3 separate regions of the Homo sapiens genome follow, and all the other regions are linked to region 1. The links are contacts of gene promoters, found by promoter capture Hi-C in human tissues and cell types (Jung and others, 2019). All regions are on one chromosome and are shown on one strand. Each heading gives the region's core, a stretch centred on a gene start or on the middle of the fragment in contact. The rest is flanking DNA. Distances are from core to core; before and after follow the strand shown.

Region 1 (3,271 bases), core at 453-2,952:
GTGGATCACTTGAGCCCAAGAGTTCAAGACCAGCCTGGGCAACATGGTGAAACCCCATCCCTACCAAAAATACAAAAAGTAGACAGGAGTGGTGGTGCATGCCTGTAGTCCTCCATACTCAGGAGGCTGAGGTAGGAGGATTGCTTGAACCCAGGAGATCGAGGCTGCAGTGAGCTATGATTATGCCACTGCACTCCTGCCTGGGTGACAAAGTGAGACCCTGTCTCAACAACAACAACAAAAAAAGAAAGAAAGAAAGAAAGAGAGAGAGACAGAGAAAAGAAAGAAAGAAAGAAAGAAAGAAGGAAGGAAAGAAAGAAAGGAAGGAAGGAAGGAAGGAAGGAAGGAAGGAAGGAAGGAAGGAAGGAAGGAGAGATGGGTCCCATTCCCTGAATGCCTCTCAAGTCATCCAAGCCCCTCTGCAGATACCAACCTGGGTCACCGCCAGACACCAGGCCAGAGTTAATGTTACTGTTCAGAAACCCAAGCTGGGCCATTTGGTGATGCCGGGGACATCGGAAAGTGGACTGAGGCTTTGGGGTCAAACAGGGCTTGTTTTTTCAAATCCCAGCTCTCCCACTGGGCACTGGGTATCCACAGGCACAGGCTTCTTCTCTCTGGCCCTCAGTTTCCGTGCCTGTAAAATGAGGGTGGTAGGGAAGATTTGGGGAGGTTCCTTCTCTTTGGGGTTTGGAGTTACACAAGAAGGAGTTTGATGCTGCCAGCCCTGGCTGGGCACAGCTCCAGGACCTAGAAATAAGGGGTGGAGCAAGGGGCACAGGGTAGGAGGAATTTCGGGTACGCAGCCAGCCCTGGCCATCTCCTTTGCCTACAGGGCGGTGAGACTCACAATGAGTGCATGAATGAGCTGTGAGCGGGCAGATGAACCAGGAGAGATGCCCTGAGCCTAGGCCTCTCCAGCCTGCGACTCCCCAGGTGGCCAGCCTCGGCCAACTTGCATACCCAGGCTGGGCCAGGCCCCTGGGAGGCCAGAAAACATCTTCCTTCCAGCATCTATCAGACGAAGATCACCTGGGACCAACCCCAGGACCTCACACAACCCTCAGAGCCAACTCTCGGGGCCAGAAGAACACCGTCTTTTCATAGAGGGGCTCTGCGTCTGGCATGGATGGGCAGAGGGTTCCTGATAGCAGTTGAACCACAAGCCTAACCCCATCGGTTGAATGTACTACAACCTCCCCGTCAAGACAACGTGCAGTGGTGAAATCTCAGGGCGAATCCCCATTCAGCCCCAAAGAGGCGTCCCAGGGCGGGGCTTGAACCCATCTGGGATGTCCTGACTACCAGAGGGGTCTTTTGGAGGCCCCCTGCCCATCACAGATACCCAGAGAAAAGGATGCGCCTAGGACTCCGAGGCGCACACAGAAAAAAAAAAAAAGAAAACAACTCACAAATGCAGCAAACGTCGGGGACACACCCACGTGCCCCTCTCCCCACGAGTGCCCCGGGCATGCAGCCCCGTCCTGGGTCCTGGGGGGGTCCCCGTGGCCGGCTGCGCCCCGCCCGCCGCCGCGCGCAGACCTTCGCCCTTGCCCCGCCAGCACCGAACCGCGCGAGCCTCGGGTTCCAGCGCAGCGCCGCGGCCGCGCTCAGGTTACAGCCCTCACCACGCGCGCACTCACCCGCGGGTCTCAGCCTCCTGCCCTCGATCCGGATCCACCGGCGCCACTACCTGGGATCTGACCGCGCCGTCCCACGGCCCAACCCTTTAACCCCGCCCGGCCGTGCCGAGGGGTCCGCCCCCGGACATCCCGCCCCGGGCTCCCGCAGGGTTCTGGGCGGGGACTCCAGCGCTGCCCCCTAGAAAAGGAGAGAACAAGAAATAGGCGTGTGGAGGGGTGGAGAGCGATGGAAAGAGAGAGAGACTGAGACTGAGATGGAGAGATGAAGAGAGACAGAGACTTGGACACCTAGAAGTCCCAAACCATCAGGCTCCCCGCCCTCCTGCCACTGCTGGGCCGCATTAGCGCCCAAGTCCCGCTCTGGACCACACTCCTCCCACACCAACACCCCCCATGGCCCTTACTTCCAGGTTTGCTCCCAAGCTTGGACAGCGATCTCTAAACCATCACCCCCTGGGGCCCCACTGACCCCCCCGAGAAGCCTCCTCTGGGGCCCTCAGGAATTCTCTGGCTCCACCAGCCCTTGGGAACCAGCCCTTCCCCTCTCTCTGGATCCTGGGCCTAAGCTTCCCCGGCACCCACCCCTGGAGGCTCTGCAGCCTCTTCCTCCAGGAAGACCTCCAACCTCAACAAGCAGCACCAGACTGGTTCTGCTCCCCGCCAACCCGCCCTCCGCCACTCCTCCCCACCCACTGCCAGACACCTTGACCCTCTGACCAGGATGTTGTCCTTGGCCAACCCGTCTACTCCAGATGTGTGGAGACAGAGTCAGCTCCGCCTCTGGATGTGTCTGTCCTCCGGAGTCGGTGGGTGGATGTGTGGCTGACCTTAGCACGTGGGCAGACAGATGAGAAGACAAGAATCTCCACTTGCCCCAGCAGGTGGTAAACTTAGAAGACTTCCTTATCCCTCTTTTTTCTAAGAATACGCTCTCATTTGGTGCTGGGCCCTTGGAAAGAGGGCGTGGGAGGTGTGGGGCATGTCTCCTGGTGAAGAAGAGGAGACACAAGTAATTGAAGTTTTGCTGCTTGGAGGAGGCAGACATGAGGTCAGGGAAGGCGACGTGGAGGATGTGACACTTGAGCTGGGACTGCATGGAGAGGTTGGATTTCAACAAGTGCAGGAGAGGGGGTAGAGCTCAAGCACAGAGAAACTGGAGGGTGTGACTTAGCAGATGGCTTTCCCTGGCCTTGGAGTGTGAGAGGTGTGGAGGCTGGAGGGATGCAGGAGTTGACTGTGAAGGCCAGTTTGAATGGCTGGATCTTGATCTGGTGGGCAGTGGGGAGCCATGGATGGTGCTTGAGTAGGGGAGGTGCCCCCTGTTAGTTGATTGGTCTCACTCTGTCATCCAGGCTGGGGTGACTCCTGGGCTCAAGCCATCCTCCTGCCTCAGCCTCCTGGGTAGTTGGGACTACAGACACGTGCCACCACACCCAGCTAATTTTTTTTTTTCATTTTTTTAGAGACAGGGTCTCACTATGTTGCCCAGGCTGGTCTCAAACTCCTGGGCTCAAGCCATTCTCCCAGCTCCTAGAACTTTTAAAAAAAAATATTTATATTTATTTGTGTCTTTAATCTTTTTTACTTCTGAGGAAGAGCTTATTTTATTAATTTTTTATTCATAATTA
Region 2 (3,271 bases), core at 538-3,037, 460 kb after region 1:
TCAGCCTCCCAAAGTGCTGGGATTATAGATGTGAGCCACTGCACCCCACCGGGAATGCTTTTTTTTTTTCTATCTAGATCCTTCTCTGACAATTTTGGTGGCATAATATCTGCTATGCCTTCCCCCATCAACCATCCATTCATCTATGTTTTTATCCATCTATCTATCCAGTCACCCATCAATTCATTCATCTATCCATCTACCATCTATCCATTAATTCATCATCTATCCATCCATTCACCCACTCACCCTTCCATCTATTCATCTGTCCATCTACTTATCTATTAATCAGTCATCCCATCCACCCATCCTTCCACCCGCACATCTATCTAGTCATCCATCAATCCAATTTAACATCCATCCTTTTATTCATCAACCCATCCACCAATTTATCTTTCCACTTACCTATCTATCCACTCATCCATCCATCCATCCACCCACTCACACATCTATTCATCCGTCTGTCTACCCATCTATTAATCAGTCATCCCATATACCCATTCATTCTTCCATCAACCCATTTATCTACCCATCCATCTATCTATCCATCCACTTATTCATCCAACCACTCATTCATTCATCCATCCATCCATCCATTCATCCATTATCTCTCTCTGTCTTCCATCCCTCCATCTATTCTATCTTCCAACTATCCCTCCATCTAGCCCTCCTTCTATCCATTCCTTCATCCATCATCTCTATCTTCCATCTATCCATCCACCTATTTACTTATCCATCTACCCACCCACCCATCCATCCATCCATCCATCAATCCATCCACCCACCCACCCACCTACCCAGCAAATATTTTCTGGGTATCTATTATGTGTTATGCACTTAGAATCCATTAAGTAAGACAGACATGCTCCCTGACTTTCTGTCCTTCTGTAGCTCTAGTCTGTGACAGAAATGAATATTAAATCTCTCTCTCTCTCTCTCTCTCTCACACACACACACTCACACACACACACAGCAAGTGCTGTGACGAAAGAGGAGCCAAAGATTGTGAGGGAGGAAGTGGAAGGAGCATAGCCCTGGAGCCAGAACCGAATCCTGCCTCAGTCCCTTCCCAGCTGTGTGACCTTCGGCATCTCACTCTCCTCTCTGAGACTCGATTTTCCCATCCGCAAAGGACCTGGGGAGAGCTCTAGGTGCTTAACAGCAATGGTGACCCAGGTAGGTTTTAGGATCCCTCTTGACCTCCTGGAACTTTCCTCTTCCTTCTCTGGACTCTCACAGCTCTGCTTGCTCCTACTTGAATTACAGCAGTGTTTTTGATTCTTACTCTCATGGCTGAACTGGCAGCTCAGTTTTCAGGACTGAAAGCCTGACTTCATTATCTCTGTCTCCATCATGGCCAACAGTGTGGCAGGGAGCACAGAGGTGGTGTTGGAGAGAATTTGCTGAGTAAACAAATAAGAAAAAAATGAACAGATGAAAAGAAAGAGGGGATGGATGGAAATTTCTTCCATTCTGCCAAAACTGGCCAGAGCATTAATTCATGAAGGGAGAGGGAGCGTATGTGTGTATGTGCGTGTGTGTGTGTGTGTGTGTGTGTGTGTGTGTGTGAGAGAGAGAGAGAGAGAGAGAGAGAGAGGCTAATATCCACCAAATCACTTACCAACTCTAGAGGCAGCTGTTCCTCAAGGCCAAGTTCAATCTCACTACTCTCCTAGTTGCCAATACTGAGCTGGGCACCGAGGAGGAGTCAGGCCCACGTACTGATCTTGGAGAAGGGGCTGACAGTGTGGAATCTCCCGGGGTTTCTCCTGAGAAGCCTGGTCTATGAATCGGGTGGCACAATCACCTGGCCCTTTATTGTCGGTGAGTTTTCTGTCACTCAAGAAACCTCATGACACACCCTTGGCACACAGCTGTGGTGTGGAAATGGAGCCAACGCCAATGGGATGAGTGATCGCAAGGCTGAGGGGACTCCCTCTGGCAAAGGTGGCCTAGGCAGAGAGTCTAAATGAGTCAGATGTCTGTGCCAGCCCAGCCACAACCTCTCCCAACCCCCATCCCATAGCCAGCCCATCTGGTTATTACCATCATCATTATGCCTAGTTTATTCATCTCACCTTCCACTGTGTAGATAACACCGACTTCACTTAGTTATTATCTCATCGAGTCTTCAAGAGTCTAGACAGATCAGTATTTTTGCTCCCATTTTGCAGATGGAGAAACTGAGGCTCATAGAGGTGAAATGACTGCCCAAGGTCAGCAATTGGCACAGTTGGCATTCAACCCTATAAGGGGTGAGGTGTGGTGGGTCACGTCTGTAGTCCCAGCGCTTTGGGAGGCCAAGGCAGGAGGATCGCTTGAGGTGAGGAGTTTGAGACCAGCCGGGGCATAGTGAGACCCTGTCACTAAAATAATAATAATAATAAAAATGATGGCATATACCTATAGTCCTAGCTACTCAGGAGGCTGAGGTAGGAGGCTGGCTTGAGCCTAGGAGTTTGAGGCTGCAGCGAGCTAAGATTGTGCCTCTGCACTCCAGCCTGGGTGACAGAGCAAGACTCTGTCTTAAATATAAAAACAAACAAACAACCCCTAAAATGTTCCAGCCCAGTTGCCTTAACTGATGCATCATGATGATTCCTCTCTTCCTCCTCCTCTTATTATTTTTCAGCCATTTTGTTTCATTTTATTTCTTATGTTAATAGTGAAACCAAAGGCGAACCTGATTAAGCCCTCCAGACTTAATCTGCCTTGCGTTTAATTGCTTACTTACTTTTAATTGCTTACTTATAGTTGATCTTAAAAGCGCCACTAGCAAGTCACGTAGCCAAATAATGCATAACTAAACTCCCACTGGCTTCCTTACAGATAACATTTTTGTCTGTGGGACACTATAGTAATGGGTGCTTAAAGTTGTTTTTCAGGAACTAGGTAGGAGGCAGCTCTTGTTTAGTTTAAGCCAGTGGAGATCACTGACCCTTCAACTGCACCTATGTGGGTAGCTGATATCAGAGGGCCGTAAACTCCACCTTCAGATCATGCTAAATGCTATTTTTTGCACAAATGTCCTATCTAAAGCCATGTAGCTCAACCATGCTTGCTCAGAAATTCTGATTACCTCACCTTCCCTACCTGCCAGTCACCTTTCTCCGTACTTTAGATCACCCCGTTTTCTATCCCATAAGCACCCTCAAACCCTATTTTTGGGGAGGAGAATTTGAGACCTGTTTTACCACCTCGTCGCTTAATTGCCTCATGAACGAACTCTTCCTCTTCTGCAAAATCTGTCATTACATTGATTGGCTTGCTG
Region 3 (3,271 bases), core at 433-2,932, 280 kb after region 1:
AATGTTCAAGGATATCGGGAGAAGGTTGCAAAATAGGAGGAAGAAGCTGGCTGCTTTTTTTTTTTTTTTTGAGACGGAGTCTCGCTCTGTCGCCCTGGCTGGAGTGCAGTGGCGCAATCTCAGCTCACTGCAACCTCCGCCTCCTGGGTTCACGCCGTTCTCCTGCCTCAGCCTCCCTAGTAGCTGGGACTACAGGCGCCCGCCACCACGCCTGGCTAATTTTTTGTATTTTTAGTAGAGACAGGGTTTCACCATGTTAGGATGGTCTCGATCTCCTGACCTCGTGATCCGCCCGCCTCGGCCTCCCAAAGTGCTGGGATTACAGGCGTGAGCCACCGCGCCTGGCCAGAAGCTGGCTTCTTGCAGGGACAGCAGGGCCGCAAGGCTCTGTGACTCTAGGCCCCATCACACCCGGCCCTGTCCCACTTCCTCTTTCGGCCAGAACCCCAGAACTCCAGTCATTCATAGGCCGGGTCCTCCTCGGGGGAACCAGGCCTGCCCCCTAGGAATCAGGGTATCCACGCCTCCTCGGCCCGCTCTCGGAGCCTGGGCCTCAACACCTGCAGATTGGCTCCCGGGCCAGGACCTGTCGCTTGAACATCAGTGGCCGCCGCCGTCCAATCACAGACGTACAGGGGCGGGCTGGCGGGCCTGTTGGGCCAGCAGGAGGACGGCGCCGGGCCGAGGCCGCTGGACCCGCCGTTGGAACCACAGCTGGGTGAAGTCAGTGCTGCTAGGTCTTTGGAGCCAGACCGAAGGGAGGGTCGCGCGCCCCTGGGTGGGTAGCACCAGGCGGCGGCCGTCGGCCGGGCCTCCCGAAGCCTCCTCCAGCCGCTAATACCGCCCGCGCCTCCCTCCTAGTCCTAGACCTGGCATTGCCTGTCCCTCTTCTTCGTCTTCCAGACCCTCCTGACCCGCCATATTAGGTCCCGGCCCCGCCCTCCGTCTCATTGCCCATTGCCCACCCCACCCCACCGCCCCCTCCCCGGCCTACCGTCAGCTCATTGGCCCAGGCTCCCGCCTTCTTCGCCCAATGTTAGGCCTCACCTCCTCTAGGATCCACCCTCTCCCCGCCCACCCGCATAAGCCAGGCCCACCATTCCAACTCTTTCTCCTTTTTGGCTTGTAGGCCGCACCTACTCTGCATATGCCCCGCCCCTCACTCCAGGTGTCGCCCACTTAACTGAAGATCCAGGATCCCCTCCTTAAGGTTTGTCTGGGCTCGGAATTGCCTTTTTTTTTTTTCTTTTTTGAGACGGAGTTTCCCTGTTGTGACCCAGGCTGGAGTACAGTGGCGCGATCTCAGCTCACTGCAACCTCCACGTCCCGGGTTCAAGCGATTCTCCTGCCTCAGCCTCCCAAGTAGCTGGGACTACAGGCGCCCGCCACCACGCCCAGCTAATTTTTGTATTTTTAGTAGAGACGGGGTTTCACCACGTTGCCCAGGCTGGTCTCGAGCTCTTGATCTCAGGTGATCCGCCCGCCTCGGCCTACCAAAGTGCTGGGATTACAGGCGTGAGCCACCGCACCCGGCCCGGAATTGCCGCCTTTAGACCCTCACCCACCCGCTGCTGAGTCTTCCTGGGCCCCGCCCCGGCCCTAAGCCCCGCACAGGACCTGCTAGGCCCCGCCCATTTATTTCCCCCCTTTCCAACCTCTTCCTCCCCAGCCTCCGCACCCTACCCTTGTTTCCTGTCCCTGTCGCGCCCAGGTGTTTACCTGGCACTCAGGTGAGTGGTGCGCTCTGGCTGTTTTCTGTCGGAGCCGCCCGCCTCTTCCTTCAGCGCGTCCCACAAATCCCGACGGCACGGAGGGGCCCCAGGCCAAGGGCGATGGGCCCCTGAGCCCTGACACCGCTTCGCCGCTGCTGCAGGTGCCCCTGGCCGGCAGCGCCGCCGTGGTCCCGGAGCGCGGCGACATGCCGGAGCTGGTGGTGACCGCGCTGCTGGCGCCGTCGCGCCTGTCGCTGAAGCTGCTGCGCGCCTTCATGTGGAGCCTGGTGTTCTCGGTGGCGCTGGTGGCCGCGGCGGTCTACGGCTGCATAGCGCTCACGCACGTGCTGTGCCGGCCCCGGCGCGGCTGCTGCGGGCGCCGTCGGAGCGCGTCCCCCGCCTGCCTGAGCGACCCCTCGCTGGGTGAGCACGGTTTCCTGAACCTCAAGGTGATCGCACGGGGGCGCTATCGGGGCTGCGGGGTCGCGTGGGGTCGAGACGGTTCAAGCCTCGGGAGAGAGGGTTCCCCAGGCTTCAGGCTGTGCCCTCCCCCTAGAGCTCGGGCCTGCGTCTGCACTATGTCTCGGCTGGACGAGGTAACGGACCCCTCATGCTGTTTCTGCACGGCTTCCCTGAGAACTGGTACGTCTGGGGCCAGGGGCCTGAGGCCCACGGGACTCGGGGGCAGGTGGAGCTTGGGCTCCCAAGAGGCAGGGAGGAGGGCTGTATAGATCGGGACAAGCTGAACATAGATGGGGATAGGGGTACTGAGCCAGCATACCCAGGATCCCTAGGCCCTGAAGGGACAGGACAAAGGGGTATTGAGGTTGATTGAAGTTCCCTGGATTCAGGGTGTAGCTGGCTTCAGCCTCAGCCTCTGCCTCTGCCTGGGATTCCCCATCCTCCTTTTAGGGGAAGTTTAGAGCAGGAAGGAGGGTTTGCCAATGGTTGCTGATGTGCGTAGGGTGCAGGTGCAACCTGAGGGCCCTGACTCAGCCTCCCTCCCTCGCCCGCCTGGCAGGTTCTCCTGGCGTTACCAGCTCCGGGAGTTCCAGAGCCGCTTCCATGTTGTGGCTGTGGACTTGCGAGGCTATGGCCCCTCGGATGCACCTCGGGATGTGGACTGCTACACAATCGACCTGCTGCTGGTGGACATCAAAGATGTCATCCTAGGCCTGGGTGCAGACATACCCCCATCCTAGGCGTGGCCTCCCTCATCCTGCACACACGCATACCCCCGCTTTCTCCTTGCTGGAACCTACTTCCCCCATCCCTGCTTCAGTCCTACTGGGCACCTCACTTATGCGAGCTCCTTGAATTCCCACAGGTTACTCGAAGTGCATCCTTGTGGCCCATGACTGGGGTGCCCTCCTTGCCTGGCATTTCTCCATCTACTACCCATCCCTGGTCGAGCGGATGGTTGTGGTCAGTGGTGCCCCCATGTCGGTGTACCAAGGTGTGTGTGGGAGTCCGGGACACTGGGATGTACTTATGTGCAAGGGGGCAGGGACATGTGTCTGTGTTTTCAATTCTCTGTATACCTGTCAACACATCAGGGG

The links. Contacts are between HindIII fragments. The study calls those that stand out against the background at their distance.
Region 2: the fragment with the promoter of CASP14 here is called in contact with the fragment with the promoter of CYP4F22 in region 1 in 5 of the 25 tissues and cell types used here (dorsolateral prefrontal cortex, liver, mesenchymal stem cells and 2 more).
Region 3: a contact is called between the fragment with the promoter of EPHX3 here and the fragment with the promoter of CYP4F22 in region 1, in 1 of the 25 tissues and cell types used here (spleen).

The regions. Positions count from the first base shown.
Region 1 is chr19:15,506,956-15,510,226 of GRCh38, reverse strand. It overlaps CYP4F22 (cytochrome P450 family 4 subfamily F member 22), which reads right to left and starts at 1,702. Exons shown (of 14, transcript NM_173483.4): 1 at 1,644-1,702. RefSeq lists an enhancer at 1,558-2,058. The HindIII fragment of the contact is 20,579 bases long and covers 1-3,271 here.
Region 2 is chr19:15,047,996-15,051,266 of GRCh38, reverse strand. It overlaps CASP14 (caspase 14), which reads right to left and starts at 1,787. Exons shown (of 7, transcript NM_012114.3): 1 at 1,622-1,787. The HindIII fragment of the contact is 29,360 bases long and covers 1-3,271 here.
Region 3 is chr19:15,230,859-15,234,129 of GRCh38, reverse strand. It overlaps EPHX3 (epoxide hydrolase 3), which reads left to right and starts at 1,682. Exons shown (of 7, transcript NM_024794.3): 1 at 1,682-2,161; 2 at 2,269-2,354; 3 at 2,734-2,891; 4 at 3,040-3,168. The coding sequence starts at 1,919. RefSeq lists a silencer at 933-1,092 and an enhancer at 1,431-1,932. The HindIII fragment of the contact is 16,546 bases long and covers 1-3,271 here.